Linked DNA regions of Homo sapiens: regions 1 and 3 are each linked to region 2. The links are contacts of gene promoters, found by promoter capture Hi-C in human tissues and cell types (Jung and others, 2019). All regions are on one chromosome and are shown on one strand. The core of a region is centred on a gene start or on the middle of the fragment in contact, and the rest is flanking DNA. Distances in the headings are between cores, read along the strand shown.

What was found. The method cuts DNA at HindIII sites, captures the fragments that hold promoters and counts their contacts. A contact is called where the count stands out against the background at its distance.
Region 1: a contact is called between a fragment that was not itself captured here and the fragment with the promoter of RIT2 in region 2, in 2 of the 25 tissues and cell types used here (bladder and hippocampus).
Region 3: a contact is called between a fragment that was not itself captured here and the fragment with the promoter of RIT2 in region 2, in 2 of the 25 tissues and cell types used here (hippocampus and mesenchymal stem cells).

The regions. Positions count from the first base shown.
Region 1 is chr18:43,247,264-43,250,067 of GRCh38, forward strand. No RefSeq gene overlaps it. Among named protein-coding and RNA genes, the nearest start is that of SYT4, 29 kb to the right of the region's middle. The HindIII fragment of the contact is 4,458 bases long and covers 1-2,804 here.
Region 2 is chr18:43,114,128-43,117,235 of GRCh38, forward strand. RIT2 (Ras like without CAAX 2) reads right to left here and starts at 1,558. Exons shown (of 5, transcript NM_002930.4): 1 at 1,290-1,558. The coding sequence starts at 1,392. The HindIII fragment of the contact is 9,119 bases long and covers 1-3,108 here.
Region 3 is chr18:42,978,584-42,981,363 of GRCh38, forward strand. The region is part of intron 2 of RIT2 (Ras like without CAAX 2); the gene reads right to left. Among named protein-coding and RNA genes, the nearest start is that of RIT2, 140 kb to the right of the region's middle. The HindIII fragment of the contact is 7,856 bases long and covers 1-2,780 here.

The DNA of each region.
Region 1 (2,804 bases), core at 185-2,684, 130 kb after region 2:
AAGGGAAATGATTTCATAATTTAATTTACTTGCTCCATTTCTTATGTTTACATGCTTAATGTGTTTTTATCCACAGTTGAGGATCCATGACTTTTAGTCCAAGGTTTTTTTTTTTTTTTTTTTTTTTTATTTACCAGTATCAGTACTAAGCTGTTGGTAGCAGTAAGCAAGTAAATACAGGATGGACTAGACATGGATTTATGGCTGTGAGACAGTGTACTCAAGGATTTCCAAGGAGAATTAATAAAGCAAGAATGTGTGTGCAGATAACATAACTGCTGCATGAGGTAAAAATTAGGTGAAAGCTTAAAAGTTTCTATTCAGAATAGAATAAAGGAAAATGGCAGATCCCACGTTGGTACTTAAGAAGGGCCAAAACACTATGATACAGAGTGTGAATAGATAGAAATGCTGAGGTTGAGTCAAAAGAAACAAAATGTAATGAAGACATGAGACAAAATTCATTGTCTATGAATTTTAAAAGACTTTTGCTTCCCACATATGATGAGGAAAAAATATTAAACACAGGAAAAGAAAATCAGATAGGAAGACTTGTTTAAATACTACTGAACCCAGGTTGTTTTTTATGGATAGGCCCATATAAAAGCATAGCAATGGCAGGAAAAGATGACCCCAACCATATTTTATCTATTCTTAACCTTGATGTTAAACACCTTTGCAGTGTGAGAAAAAAGTGACAGGAGAGTTTATGACTATGCCGTGTTCTCCAAAGAAACCCAGCCTTGCAGAGCCAGGCCTGTGAGTGCAGTATAGTAGAGGGAAGATTCAAATCCTGAACATCTGTGTTTTACCAAGCACTTTACATATACTGTTTCATGAAAGCCTGCAAGGTAGTTATGCATTGCACAAGATGAGGAAACCAAGTTGCAGAATAACTTGCTCAATGTCACCTAACCAATAATGGAGAATGATGAAGTTAAAATCATGATGTGTCTGTTGGCAAAGTTTGTACATTTTCTAGCCATGCTAAGCTGCCTCTTGGTTGGTAAGATTCCTAGTTAAATGAATAGAGGTCATTTTCTGAAGTTAATGAGAACTTGGAGTAAAGAAAAAGAATAAAATATTATGACAGAAAGGATGCTTACATAAAATAAGGGAGCTGTCTACACAGCAAGATTAACTCATCAAAGTATAATAATAACGAACAAGAAAAAGGTTTGAGAGAGCTGTGAGGCTGCTAATGATGAAAAGTGTGACTGCAGTTATTAATAAAATAAAAAATTTACTCTGAAATTCCTAGATATAACATCTTCTCAACAAATATAACCAGAAAAACATGCCCAAACACTTGAAGAACTGTAACATCAATTTCTTCCCTTATCACAATTAAATGTTTACTAGTTCATTCTTTTCCATATTCTTTAGTATTCTCAGAGAATTATGCATACTTTTTTACTCTCTGGAATACATTTCAGTGAAACATGTAAAATTTGAATAGCCTGTTATCTGATCTGGAAATAAATGTGCTTGCTAAATACTTCCTGAGCTTTGTTGCCAGTTGGACTTTCAACTCATGATTCCAACATTTCCAGGTTTTCCTTTCTACACTATCTTGTACAAATGAATTGTGCTGAATTTGTGGTTTATAAATGGTATTTGATTTCTTCACTCATGTTTCACCCTTTACAAAAATTCATAGCATCCTAAAGTTAGTTTGAAGGGAACACATTTAGTAGAGTTAAAGGAAGGCAACTCTGCAAAAGGGAACACAGGTAGAAAACTTGAAAAGACTAAAGGTGTGAGTATAATGGTTCCAAAAAGGAGACCTTAGATGAACAGAGTTGCTAAACACAATGTTAGAATTTAATGCTGGGAGAAGAGCAGAGTGAAAAAAATCACAGAACTGGTCATCACCTCTAATGTACTAGGCTTCCAACCAATTATATGACATTGAGAAAGTCTTCCTACCTCTTAAATGGCTGTTTTAAGGCTTAGGGAATAATATTCGCAAACAAGCAAGTCACAGATTTTAGTAGCTTCAACAACAGTGGATTAGCTGGGAGCTCATCTTCGTATCATGGGAGTGAGGGTGACAGAGCAACAATTCTATCTGAAACATTTCCAAACACCAACATAATACAGGAAAAAAAGAATCTGGAAACACATTCTTGGCTCTCAAAACTTCCACATAAAATGACAACATTACTTTTCTATACTCAAACAAATCATCTGCCTCATCCACCTTCCTTCAGGTGAGGTGAAGTGTGATCTTTTATGTTGCTAGAGTAGAAAAAGCTTGGGATTTTGGATAGTCCTGCTAATATAAAGTTTATTTTGTAACATCCTGTGAAACATACTGCTGGGAATGTACACATAAGAGTGAAGAGGCGATGCTGTGCATGAGTACTTTCTTGTTCAAAAAGAGTCCCTGCAACAGCTACTGTCACTGCCAGAAGTAGTGTTATCTCTTGGAGGCCTCCAAAATATATTGGTTTTAACTTAATCAATCCCTCCTGATGCTAGGAAGGTAGCACAGACCAGCCAATAAAATTGAATAATTCAGATTACAGAATTAACTCGTTAATGTCCATTTGTATCACTCCATGAAACAAAGCTCGGTCATAAAAAGACATAGGAAAAATATTTTTTTTTCATAAGAGAGAGGGAAAGTTTTCCAGCACGAGCAGCCAATGTCCGGGGATGCAATGCCTTTCCAAGTGACGGAAGGCAGTGAAAGGGTAACCCTAAAGCACTGAGTTTGACGAAAGAAGGATAAGGTGGAATGGTTTCTTGAATGAATTATCTTTTTCTTCTTTTTTAACAATATCTTAAGGCATAATTGA
Region 2 (3,108 bases), core at 308-2,807:
TTACAAAGCTTTTCTTTCATATTTTTGCCTCCCTAGAAGAGATGAATAATTTTTTTCACTTTGATATGCATTTTGCTACTGACCACATCCAGATGTACCTATTTCTTTTATTTTTTATGAGAATTCTCTTTTGTAGGGTGAGGAGAAGAGGTAGGGGTGCTGAATTTTATGTTTCTTACTATCTTTAACTTTGTTGTCCACTAAAGTCACAATCTCCTTCCTCTTCCTTTACTGTTCAGTTTTCCTATCCCTTGTGGACCCATCCACCAAAGTTGTTAGTTTTTTGGTTTCTTCTGCCGAAAATATTGTCTTCGTCTTTTAATTTTTTTGTCAACACTAAAACTACTGATTTGTTTTGATGCTTTTTGTCCATGCTAACTATAATATTTTTTCTACCTTTTAGAATTCCCAAAGATATATTCCCAGTGGAGATATTTAATATTTATATAAAAAGCTATATTTATTTATTTTCTAGTGATAGCCATAGCTCCGAGCTATCTAACATTTGATCAGCCAAAAAACTACTATGTATCTATTTTTTTAATTTTTTTATATTTGGCCTTTTAGGCTCCTCAAGAATCCCAACAACTGACACTTCCGTTCTTTATGTACCAAAAGAAATTTGCTATTCTTCATCTCTATTATCACCTCATCTTCATTTATTTGTGTAGCTTTCTCCTTTAATTGACCACAAAGTTTAGTTTGATCACCCTGCACAGGACTCACAATGAATATCATTCCATAAATCACTGCCACTTTCAAAAACCAACTTTCTTTTGGTATTCAAAGCCCACACACACCATGTCAGACTACAGATGAGGAAAAAGAACCTCCTAATGAAAGAAACAAACACAACAATCAACACCCATCATCCCGAGTATATGTCTGTGTTTGTAACTGTGTTTAATTGAATATTCATAGCACTTCTTTCTTTATGTGAAGATTTTTGAGACTAGGAGCACATTTTTCTCATACCATGACAATTTCATACTTATTTTTATTATTAAAAAAGACCTATACACTAAGAGCAAATATCACCCAGCATGAAATCAAAGAAAACAATCATCCTCTTAAGGTTCTGAGGATCATCACTGGCTGTCTGCATTATCCTGACTCATCAGCATCGGTTTAACAGTCCTGACACTTTGGAGCATCCTGCCAGACCCATACTCTGTGTTTAACTGCCACAGTTCACCTCTAACAGCATCAGCAATATCATTTTTCTTTCACTCTATAGAGTTGTCTCTATAGAGGTCCCTCCTTCCCCAGCATTTGGTGTGAAAACTTACCGCTTTTACCAACTCCCCCTGCTCCCAGCATTACCACCTTGTACTCTCTGGACCCGCCTGATGCGCTGCCCGGGGAGCAGCTGGCTTCATTTTCTACCTCCATCTTACCCGAGGGACCGGAGGAAAAAAAGAAGGAGAAAGTCACCCGTGTCAGGTGCTTGCTCGAATATTAAGCAACTCTAAAACTGTGTCAAAGCAAAGGTTTTAGTACGAGGTAAGAACCATCAGCGTCGGGCTGGCTGCTGGTCCTCCGCTCGAGCGGGTCTCATAGCAACCACTTCAATTGCTTCCAATAAAAATCTGGCTTTTGCATCCCCCACCCTTCCTTCCGATCCTTCACTCTTTCACGTCTCCTACAATCTCTCTCTCTCTCTCTCTCTCATTTTCATTTCCTCCCTCATTTGATTCTTTCTCCATTTCCCTTCCCCACTGTCTGTTTCTCTCCTTTCTCTTTCCTGCCTACCCCCTGCACAGTCACAGTTGTCAGTGGCACACACACATTCGACCCCTTTTCAGGCTGCGCTGCTAGAATGGAGTGAATCTGAGACCTCACAGGAGTTGCTATGTCTCACAGGATGACTTCTGTAGGTACAGCTTCAAAGATGCTATTTTCTTTTAATCAAAGTCAATTAATAAGGATTTCTTCTGCTTATAGTCTTGCATTTTATCACTCTTCTATTGCAGTTTTCATTCCGGGAAAATGGAAAAGCAAAACAAAAACAAAACAGAACAGTAACTCAGGGCTCATAAGGATGGATCTTCAGTGTTATTGAAATAACAGCCGGCTAACAGGAATTGTTCAGCTCACTAGACAGTTGCAGGTTTAACATAGGGGGGTAATTGAATTAGATCATTGTCATATTTGGACAAGGCTCATGCTTGTTTACGTTAAGTTATTAGAAACAACTTAAATCACAAGGACTATCAAGCATGAAAGAGATAATTGATAAATATTTTTACTGACAATTATACTAGCATAAAAGATTGTAGAAGAATATTTTTAAATGTCCAAACTATTATTACCTGTTTGAATTCTTATAAAGCTTTGCGGTCTTTGTTTTTCTCTAAAGAACTTCTAAACTACAGAGGGTCAAGAATGTTTTCAATAATTCCTAATTGTCATAATAAGATCCTGTCTTTTAATCAACATGATGATGTTTAACATGTTTATTGTCTATTTTCTAAAGCTTGAATCATTATCAGATGCAGACAAGTGTTTGGTGTGCATAGACTAGACTTGTCTTTCTATCTAGATTTTAAGCTCCACTAGGAAAAGAACTATATTTAGTCCATTTCTTGTGATTCTATAATATGTGCACTGAGTAGGCACTCAATATATACTTGCTGGTTTCTGTAGAGGCTTCAAATTGTTATAGCCAAGAGCACAGTCTCTGAAGCCAGAATGCCTGTGTTCAAATCTGGGCTTAGCCACTTACCAGCTATATGACCTTAGGCAAATTCCTTCACCTCTCTGTGCCTCAATTTCTTTATCACTGAATAGTTAATTAAAACCCTACTTTGTTAACTCATTAAGTGAGCTAATATTTATATAGTGCTTAAAACTGTGTCTGACAAGTGATAAGTACCACACAGGTATATGATATGAAGAGTATGTTATTATTTTGAATCTGTGCTGCTGTCAGTCTACTGTTTACAAACACTCGCCCAAGAAGAGAAGATTATCTTTTCATGTGTTTATTGGCCATCTGTATATCTTCTTTGCCAAAGTATCTGTTCAAGTCTTTTGCTTATTTTTATACCAAGGTGTTTATTTCCTTATTGCACTTTGAGAATTCTTTATATATTTCGGATGTAAGTC
Region 3 (2,780 bases), core at 43-2,542, 140 kb before region 2:
GCCAAATGTATACAAAGCTTTATCAGGCAGAAATGGTAGCAGCTGCCTGCTGTATCATTTGCGCAGAAAAGCACACTAGGACTGCATTCTTGGAGGCATCCACTACCTTAAAATTTATCTCAAAGTACTAATGTTTAATTTGAGATCATTGCTTCTCAGGATATATCTTCTCCACTGTCCCTCTTCAGCAGAATTGCATAAGAAGAAATCACTAAAGACCTATATTAAAGCCTCAAATCTATCACTAAATATCTGTTATTGGTTGGCCATGAAACCTTATTTGTAAGATGGCGATAATAGTAACACTAGTCAACGCATGGGAGTTCTATAAGGATCAACAAAAGTAGCACATAAGACAGTGCTTTTGAAAAAAGAAAGCAAAATTCAAACTCAAGGAATATTATGTTATGAGTTTTATTTAGTACTGCTTCAAATTAGCCATGAAACTAAATTAAAACTAAATTATTTCTGCTATTTATATTTACCCATGTGGAAATGTTTTTCCCAAGTAAATCATAAACTTTTTGGCAAGATATGTTTGCAATAATAACTAGAAATATAAAGTTTTTGATTAATTAAAAAGTGTAAGGTATTCTGGATAATTTTCCCAAAGCAGCTAATGTATTTTTTTCAGAATAAACATATTCATTTACATAATTTTAAAATATTTTAGTTGCAAATATAAAATTAGGATAATATAAGACCACCAAAATATATAACTAAGAAAAAAATATCAGAAATTTAATGGTAAATTTTCATTAAATGATTTTCAAATATCTTAAGATGATTGAATACTTCTTACATGGTTTACCTCATAATCTGAAATATATAATTCATATTACAATGAAGCTATTTTTCTATAACTCCAAGCTATTATACACCTCCAAGATATTAATCACTGACCCAAATTTTTTAAAGGCAATAAATAGTACAAAGTCTCATAGAATCAATTTATAAGATCTTTCTCAAAGGATTACTTGAATAAATCATCTCAATTGTAGGTACATATGTGTGTCTGTGTGTACAGAGCAGAAGTATCTTGCAACGTACTGTGCTGCACACTTTTTCTTGACCAAAATGTTAAATCCTGGATGAATCAGCATTGATACAAATCTAATGTATGTATCAATATATTGATCAATAAAGGGTTCAATATGTATTTGAGTATGTAATAGGTGCTGCACACTCAGATGGCAATACAGTCTACACAACTGAAAAAGCCAGGTGGTTTCCACCCACATTGAATTTATAATCTTGTGGGAATACATAAAAAAGCAATTGCACTGTATTTTAATGAGTGCTACATTAGAAGTACTTTGAAGGGTGCTTATTTAGGGAGATGTCAGAGAACACTCAGAGGAACTGATGTTGAGCTAAGGTCAGTTCTTCAAGTGATGGATTGAAAACAGAGTTAGGAAGGAGGAAGACAAGGAGGGCTCTGCCACGAAAAGAGAAAAGAAGTTGCATGAGATCTGATGTAACCCTTCCTTTGGGCCTAAACATTCAGTGAAATGTCATAAAAGTCTACCTGTTTGTTGGCTGTGAAAAAGGCTTGTAAAACTGGCTGAACTGAGTTTGTGGGACGACTCAGGGCAAAGAAGAACAACCTTTCCTATCATAGAAGTAAAAGCTGAAGACAGGGTACCACAAGGACCTAAACCCTAGAAATTCACAGGAATTATAAGGCAGAGCATGGATTTTTTCTCATGCTGTAATATTGAGAATTCAGTACAGTTTACTTAGGTCTCTGAGAAATAGGAGCTTCCAGATGATATCTGACTTACACAGCAATTGAAATCTTTCCCCCAGAAATCAACTACCCCACTAGCATCTATTTATATAGATGGAATCTCCCTAGTATCAGAGGGATGCTGATTGGTGTCAACTACCCCACTACCACTAGGTAGGTAATAGGGTAGTTGATACCAATCAGTATCTCTCTGATACCCCCCGGAGATTCCCAGTGTTACTGCTCTGGAAAGTCTGCCCAAAGTGGCCAATCACACACTTTCTGTGGTGTTTGCAGGCAGATTCTCCAGTGACTAACATGCTTGTCAGAATGTCTGTGCCCCTGGACTCCTCTGCAGGAGGCCTTGCCAAGAACAGAAAACCCAATGAGGAAGGGCAAGCTGGGGTGTGTCCTGTGGAGACACAGAACCCTACCTGGAGATTTGCAGGTACAGAGGACCACTACTGGAAGATGTCATTTTAAACAATGACTTATCAGATCAAGGACAAGCAGATGGAGATGTATTTGATAAGGAATATACTGATCTTCTGATGAGGGGACATGTAGCCCTGGCAAGAGTATGCAGAAGGAACAGCCAAATGACTGCTCTTCCCCAAAGTCATTATCTACAGAAAATGCTTCAGTGTGTCTCTCATATGTTAGAAACATTTAATCTTTTCCTTTCAACCTGAGAGAGTAGAAGGATCCATTGGAAACCTAATTCCCTGGCTGTCTTCTGCCAAATAAATATGAGCAACAGGACTAGGTCACGGTCACTGATGCTGAATGTCTCCAGTTCTTTGTGTCTGCCTCACTTAATTATTGCTTGGGGATGAAGGGGAAGAGAAGAAAATAATCTTTCCTCCCCAGCACCTGGCATCTCTTGGTCTACCTTTTTAACACCTCAAAAATACCCTTGAAAAATGGCTTTATGATCCTAAGACCATGATCTCTGCAATACCTGTCTTCCAGAGGTTGTATATGACAGAATGAGCTTAAATACATATTATTTCTTCACAGAAATAAAAAGAACTTTTATGATCAAGGCAAT